Linked DNA regions of Homo sapiens: region 2 is linked to region 1. The links are contacts of gene promoters, found by promoter capture Hi-C in blood cells and fetal thymus (Javierre and others, 2016). All regions are on one chromosome and are shown on one strand. The core of a region is centred on a gene start or on the middle of the fragment in contact, and the rest is flanking DNA. Distances in the headings are between cores, read along the strand shown. Region 1 holds the start of TMEM238 (transmembrane protein 238). Region 2 overlaps PPP1R12C (protein phosphatase 1 regulatory subunit 12C).

Region 1 (2,903 bases), core at 1-2,500:
TAGCCCCGGCACCTTTGGATATTTCCGGTCTTCGTAAGCCCTCGCGGTGATGGCCAATGAGGGCGCCGAGGCCCGCTCGGGTATTTTCGGAACCCTCCGGAAACGCTCTTGGGAGAGGTGTGTATGTTCGGAAATACTCCGTCTTCATTCGGAATCCCTCGGCTAATCCTGGCAGCCCTCTTGCAGTTCGCCCTCCCCAGGGTTTTCTTGAAATAAAACTCTTAAACTGTTTAAGCCTGGGGAGAACCTACACGGAAACTTCTCGCTGACTGCCACCCCAGGGGAGCGCGGATGCCCTCTAAGGGAGAATTGTTTGGAGGGAGGGAGATTTGCATGTGGCTTCTCTTGGCTCCCTTTAGGATTCTATAGATTTGCCGGTCCTCTTCCCTGCCCTCCACCTGTGCCTCCAGCCTATGGTGTGCCTGTCACACCCCATCAGCTCCCTGGGAGGTTATGATCCGTTGTCAGGGCCACCCTAAGGGGGCAGGAGCCTTGCCTGATATTTCTCTGTGTCCTCGGCCTCACCCACGCGGCATGGTGCTGGGGAGGCCTCAGAGACTCCTACTGAACAAAAGGAATGAGGGTGCCTGTGTCACCTCCCCAGGGCTCCTTAACTTGCGGTTACACCCGGGCACTCCTTGGGGCAGGGGCTTCGTCTGGTCCATAGGACTATCCTCCATAGGACAGTCGGGGTTCGCCCAGCTTCCTCCACGGGTGCGCTCTGGACCTGATGGGTCTCGTCCGTCCTTGTGCCCGTGGCTTCATTCGCTGAACACAGGAGACCCCAGAAGACACGCGCTGAGTGAAGGAAACTCAGCTTCCGCGGAACCCGGAGCTTCCCCTCTTAGATCACCCCGACTACTGGTTCTCGCGTCCCAGAGCTCCTTGGTGTCTAAAGGCCTTGTCTGATCTGCACTGTCTGATCTGCACAGGCTTCGGGAGGCGGACACTGAGCAGAAACAACGCCACGCCCGGCTCCGAGTGTCCCATGCTGCCACCACTAAAATGCCCTGATTTTTGGCCATATGTGACCTCCCTGGGTGGCACGGGCCCTAGGCACCCGTGGCTGTGCGCCTGGCTACCACCAGCTCAGGCCTCTGAGCAATAGCCCCTGCACGGAAACCACGACCAGGGTAACCCCGGCCGCGCCGGTTCGCGCCCAGCCCGGTTCAGGTGACCAGGCGGGAGCTTGGCACACCTGGCGCCGTCCCCTGACCCCGCCCCGGACCGGGCCGCACCCCGGAACGCTCTCTCTGGGCGCCAGCGGCGGCGGTGCAGGGCCATGGCGGCGGCGCCAGCGGTGTGCGCCTCGCAGGGGAGCCCGCCGGGTGCACCGTCCGCGCCGGCGGCCGCGCCAGCACCCGCGGCCGGCCTGGGCCGCTGCCGGATGGCGCTGCTGCTGGCCGTGGCGCTGGATGTGGCGGGCATGGCGGCGCTGCTGACCGGCGTGTTCGCGCAGCTGCAGGTGCGCGGCCGCGACTTCGGGGACCTGCTCATCTACTCGGGCGCGCTGCTGGTGTTCCTGAGCCTGCTGGGCTGGATCCTCTGGTACACCGGCAACATCGAGATCTCGCGCCAGGAGCTGGAGCGCGACTACGGCCTGCGGCCCTCGGCGCTCGCCCGCCTGGCGCGCAAGCTCTCCCGCCGCTGGTCGGCGCCCGCCGCCGCGGGCCAGCGCCCCGCGCCCGGCTCCCGGAGAGCGCGCCGAGCCGCCCGCGCGCCCCCGCCGCCCGCCGCCGGCTCCCGCCGCGTGCGCCTGCAGCTCGCCACGCTCGAGGCCGGGCCCGGGGCGGCGGGCGCGGGCAGCGAGTGAGGCCCAGGTGAGGGGCGGGCGGGGCAGGGCGGGGAGACGGAGGGACCGAGGGAGGGACGGGAATGGAGACAGACGGGGGAGCGATGGACAGATGGAGACAGAGAGCGGCCATGGGGAGGTAGAGTCCCAGGGCGGGGTGGAGACAGGGACGGGAAGGCTCTGGCGGAGAACCGCAGACACAGCAAGCACAGGTGCATACGTGGGGGAGGCTGTGAGACCCTGCCCCTGGAGATGGGAAGTGTGGGGGTCGAGTCACACAGTTAGGCCCCCCGCACGGGGAGAGCCCCAGCTTCCAGGTACACCAGGCCCCATTTTTTGTTTTGTTTTGTTTTGTTGTCGTTTGGGGTTGTTTTGAGACAGGATCTCTCACTGTCACCCAGGCTGGAGTGCAGTGGCGTGATCTCAGCTCACAGCAGCCTCGACCTCCTAGGCTCAAGCAGTCCTCCCACCTGAGCCTCCCAAGTAGCTGAGAATACATGTGCGCCCCACCTTGCCGGGCTAATTTTTGTATATTTAGTAGAGACGGGGTTTTGCCATGTGGGCCAGGTTGGTCCCCACCTCCTGAGCTCATGCGATTTGCTCTCCTCAGCCTCCCAAAGTGCTGGGATTACAGGCGTGAGCCACTGAGCCCAGACCAGGCCCCATTTAATCCTCTCCATGTAACTGGTCTCCAAGGTCACTACTATTACCATCCCCATTCTGCAGTGGAGGAAACTGAAGCGCAGAAAGGCGCCACATTTGCCCAAGGCCACACAACACGTAGGTGGAGGAGCTGGGATTCTCCTGACCTGTAGGCCTAGGAAAAGAGGAGCTGGGATTCTCCTGACCTGTAGGCCTAGGAAAGGAGGAGCTGGGATTTTCCTGACCTGTAGGCCTAGAAAAGGAGGAGTAAGAAGGACCAACAGCAGGAGAAATGAAGCCACCACACATTCACTCCCCTTTCCCCTCTACCTTCTATCTCTTTCCTAAACACACCTTTCCAGCTAGCCTGCCTCTGCTCAAAGACCTGCTGTGGCTCCCTCTTCACCTTTGGTTAAACTGAAGCACTCACTGGCCTGTGGACCCCCCATATTTTGGCCCCATTTCTCCT
Region 2 (2,903 bases), core at 1-2,500, 270 kb after region 1:
TTTTCGTGGCTCCCTCTGGAGTCCCGACTTGCTGGGACACCGTGGCTGGGGTAGGTGCGGCTGACGGCTGTTTCCCACCCCCAGGCCTGCATTGATGAGAACCTGGAGGTGGTGCGCTTCTTGGTGGAGCAGGGCGCCACTGTGAACCAGGCAGACAACGAGGGCTGGACGCCACTGCACGTGGCCGCCTCCTGTGGCTACCTAGATATCGCCAGGTGAGGCAAGGGAGGGCCGGGCAGGACCTGGTCGGGGTGGGGGCCTGGACCCTCAGCCCTGACCAGCCCCCACCCCCAGGTACCTCCTGAGCCACGGGGCCAACATCGCCGCCGTCAACAGTGACGGGGACCTGCCCCTGGACCTGGCCGAGTCGGACGCCATGGAGGGGCTGCTGAAGGCGGAGATCGCCCGCCGAGGTGGGCTCTGGTGTGCTGTGTGTGGGGTGGGGGACACCTCCTCACCCGTGGTCTCCAGGCTGAGAGCTTTAGAGGCGGCCTGGGCACCGAGGCTGACCCTGCTTCCTAGGATTGTCTTTCTTTGTGCCTCAGTTTCCTCACCTGTGAAATGGGGGTGTAGGGGCCTGCCTCCAGGATTGCTTGGAGCCCAGCACACGCACAGGATGAGAACTCAAACCCCTACCAACTGGGACTGTCAATCCCCCTGAGTAACTGAGGGGATTGGAATGCCGGGGCGGGGTGGGTGGGTGGAGGGACTCACCCAGGAGTGCGTTAGGTAGGATTGCTGGAACCCTGCCGCAGGTCTTTCTGGGAGGGGATGCGTTTACTTGGGGGGGAGTAGGGGCATGCAGGGGTTGCCAGGGACTGGTCTCCCTGTCCTCTGAGACTCATCGTACCCCAGGAGCCTTCATATGGGGTCCAGGAGCCCCTGAAACTGTGTCTGGCCAGGTTCATTTTTCTAGGGAAGGGGTGTTGCTTCTAGCAGGTGTGTGATGGCCACACAGGATCCCTGGGTCCCCAGCATGTCTTCTAAAGTCCTGGGCTTGCCTCCCAGCTCTGCCTGTGACTGGTGACTCCAGGCACGTCCCTGAAGCTTGCTTCCCTGATTTCCTAAAACAGGACCACTGGTGCCGCTTCATGGGGTGGTTGTCAGGGTCTGGCTGGGTTGGAGTGGAAGGGTGTGAGCATGGTTCCCGGCAGACTCCAGGGGACCGTGTGGAAGGAAAGGGAGACTGACGAGGAAATGAGATACCGGCAGCCTCCGAGACTTCTGACGCGGCTGTCCTGACGGGGCCGCTGGCCAGGCTGAAAGGATAGGATTCCGCGTGGGTTCAGGGGTCCACGAGAGCCATGCGGGAGGACTAGCTAGTGGGACACGTGACGGCGGAGATCTGAGGTTCGGGAGCCCCTCTTTGGTTGAAATGGGGAGTGGGTCAAATCAGCCCTGGACCTGGATTCTGTCTCCTTCCTCCTCCAACTTTTTATTTTGGGAAAGCTTCAGATTTACAGAAAAGTTGAAGCAATAGCATGTGACTACCCATATGACTTTCACTAAGATTCGCCAGTGCTTTTTCTTTTTTGTTTTTGTTTTTTAGACAGCTTTTTGAGATGTAATTCACCTACCCTACAATTCACCCAAAGTGCACACTTCAGTGCTTTTTAGTCTATTCACGGGGTCGGGCATTTATGACCACATTGGTTGTAGAACATTTTCATCATCCCCCAACGAAACCCTGCAACCGCTTAGCCATCACCCCCAACCATGCACCCCCCCCTCCCCCCCACCCCACGAAGCCCTCTCTGCCTTCTGTCTGTGGATTTGCTGTTTTGTACACTTCACATAAAGGGAATCATACAGTATAGAATCATCAGCTTTTAACTTTTTGATAGATTTGTGTTCCTTCTCTCTGTCCCTCCCTTGCGATCTCTTCCCAGGTATAGACATAAACACATTTTTTCCTATCCTTTCTCCTCCTGTTTTTTTCCCTCCATCTCTCCCTTCCTTTCTTACCACCCCACCCCTGCCTTTCCATTCCTGAGCCTTTTTTTTTTTTTTGAAACAGAGTTTCACTTTTTGCCCAGGCTGGAGTGCAATGGCATGATTTCGGCTCACTGCAACCTCCACCTCCTGGGTTCAAGCGATTCTCCTGCCTCAGCTTCTGGGTAGCTGAGATTACAGGCGTGAGCCAGCATGCCCAGCTAATTTTGCATTTTTAATAGAGATGGGGTTTCACCATGTTGACCAGGCTGGTCTCCAACTCCTGACCTCAGGCGATCTGCTGGCCTCGGCCTCGCAAAGTGTTGGGATTACAGGCGTGAGCCCGGCCATTCTGAGACTGTGTTGCAGGCATTGTACATCTTCGCCTGATGCACAGCAGGTATCTCCTGCCACAAGGAAAACCTCCTGCAGAACCACAGTAGGGATGCAACACGCTACCCCCTGTGTTGACCTTGATGCTACACTCTCACCCACCGCACCAACCTTGATGCTACACTCTCACCCACCGCACCAACCTTGATGCTACACTCTCACCCACCGCACCAACCTTGATGCTACACTCTCACCCACCGCACCAACCTTGATGCTACACTCTCACCCACCGCACCAACCTTGATGCTACACTCTCACCCACTGCACCAACCTTGATGCTACACTGTTGCCTGCGTTTCTCCTTGACATTCTTTGTAGCCTCTCCCGCTCTGGTTCAGGGCCCAGCTAGGGATCCAGATCTGGGTGATTTAGGCTCCCTCTGTCTGGATCAGTCCTCCTTTTCCCTTGGACCCCAGGGAGGCCGGGAATGGCCTCCAGGGGGTCTGTGAACTTTCTGACGTTGTATTTTCCTGCAGAAATTGCTCATAACTTGCATCAGCTTCTCAGAGGGGGCCATGCTTCTTCCCTCCCGTGGGGTGAGGAGAAGGCTGGGAGGGATACATTGGTGGGGGATATTG

What was found. Contacts are between HindIII fragments. The CHiCAGO score rates a contact against its expected background, and 5 or more counts as called.
Region 2: a contact is called between a fragment that was not itself captured here and the fragment with the promoter of TMEM238 in region 1, in 11 of 17 cell types (fetal thymus, activated CD4 T cells, naive CD4 T cells and 8 more). The highest score is 9.5, in fetal thymus.

The regions. Positions count from the first base shown.
Region 1 is chr19:55,382,639-55,385,541 of GRCh38, reverse strand. TMEM238 (transmembrane protein 238) reads left to right here and starts at 1,250. Exons shown (of 2, transcript NM_001190764.2): 1 at 1,250-1,820. The coding sequence starts at 1,283. The coding sequence ends at 1,813. RefSeq lists enhancers at 565-634, 665-734, 688-1,650 and silencers at 1,025-1,364, 1,655-1,744. The HindIII fragment of the contact is 6,498 bases long and covers 1-2,903 here.
Region 2 is chr19:55,109,977-55,112,879 of GRCh38, reverse strand. PPP1R12C (protein phosphatase 1 regulatory subunit 12C) reads left to right here. Exons shown (of 22, transcript NM_017607.4): 2 at 85-215; 3 at 295-413. Among named protein-coding and RNA genes, the nearest start is that of PPP1R12C, 6.2 kb to the left of the region's middle. The HindIII fragment of the contact is 402 bases long and covers 1,050-1,451 here.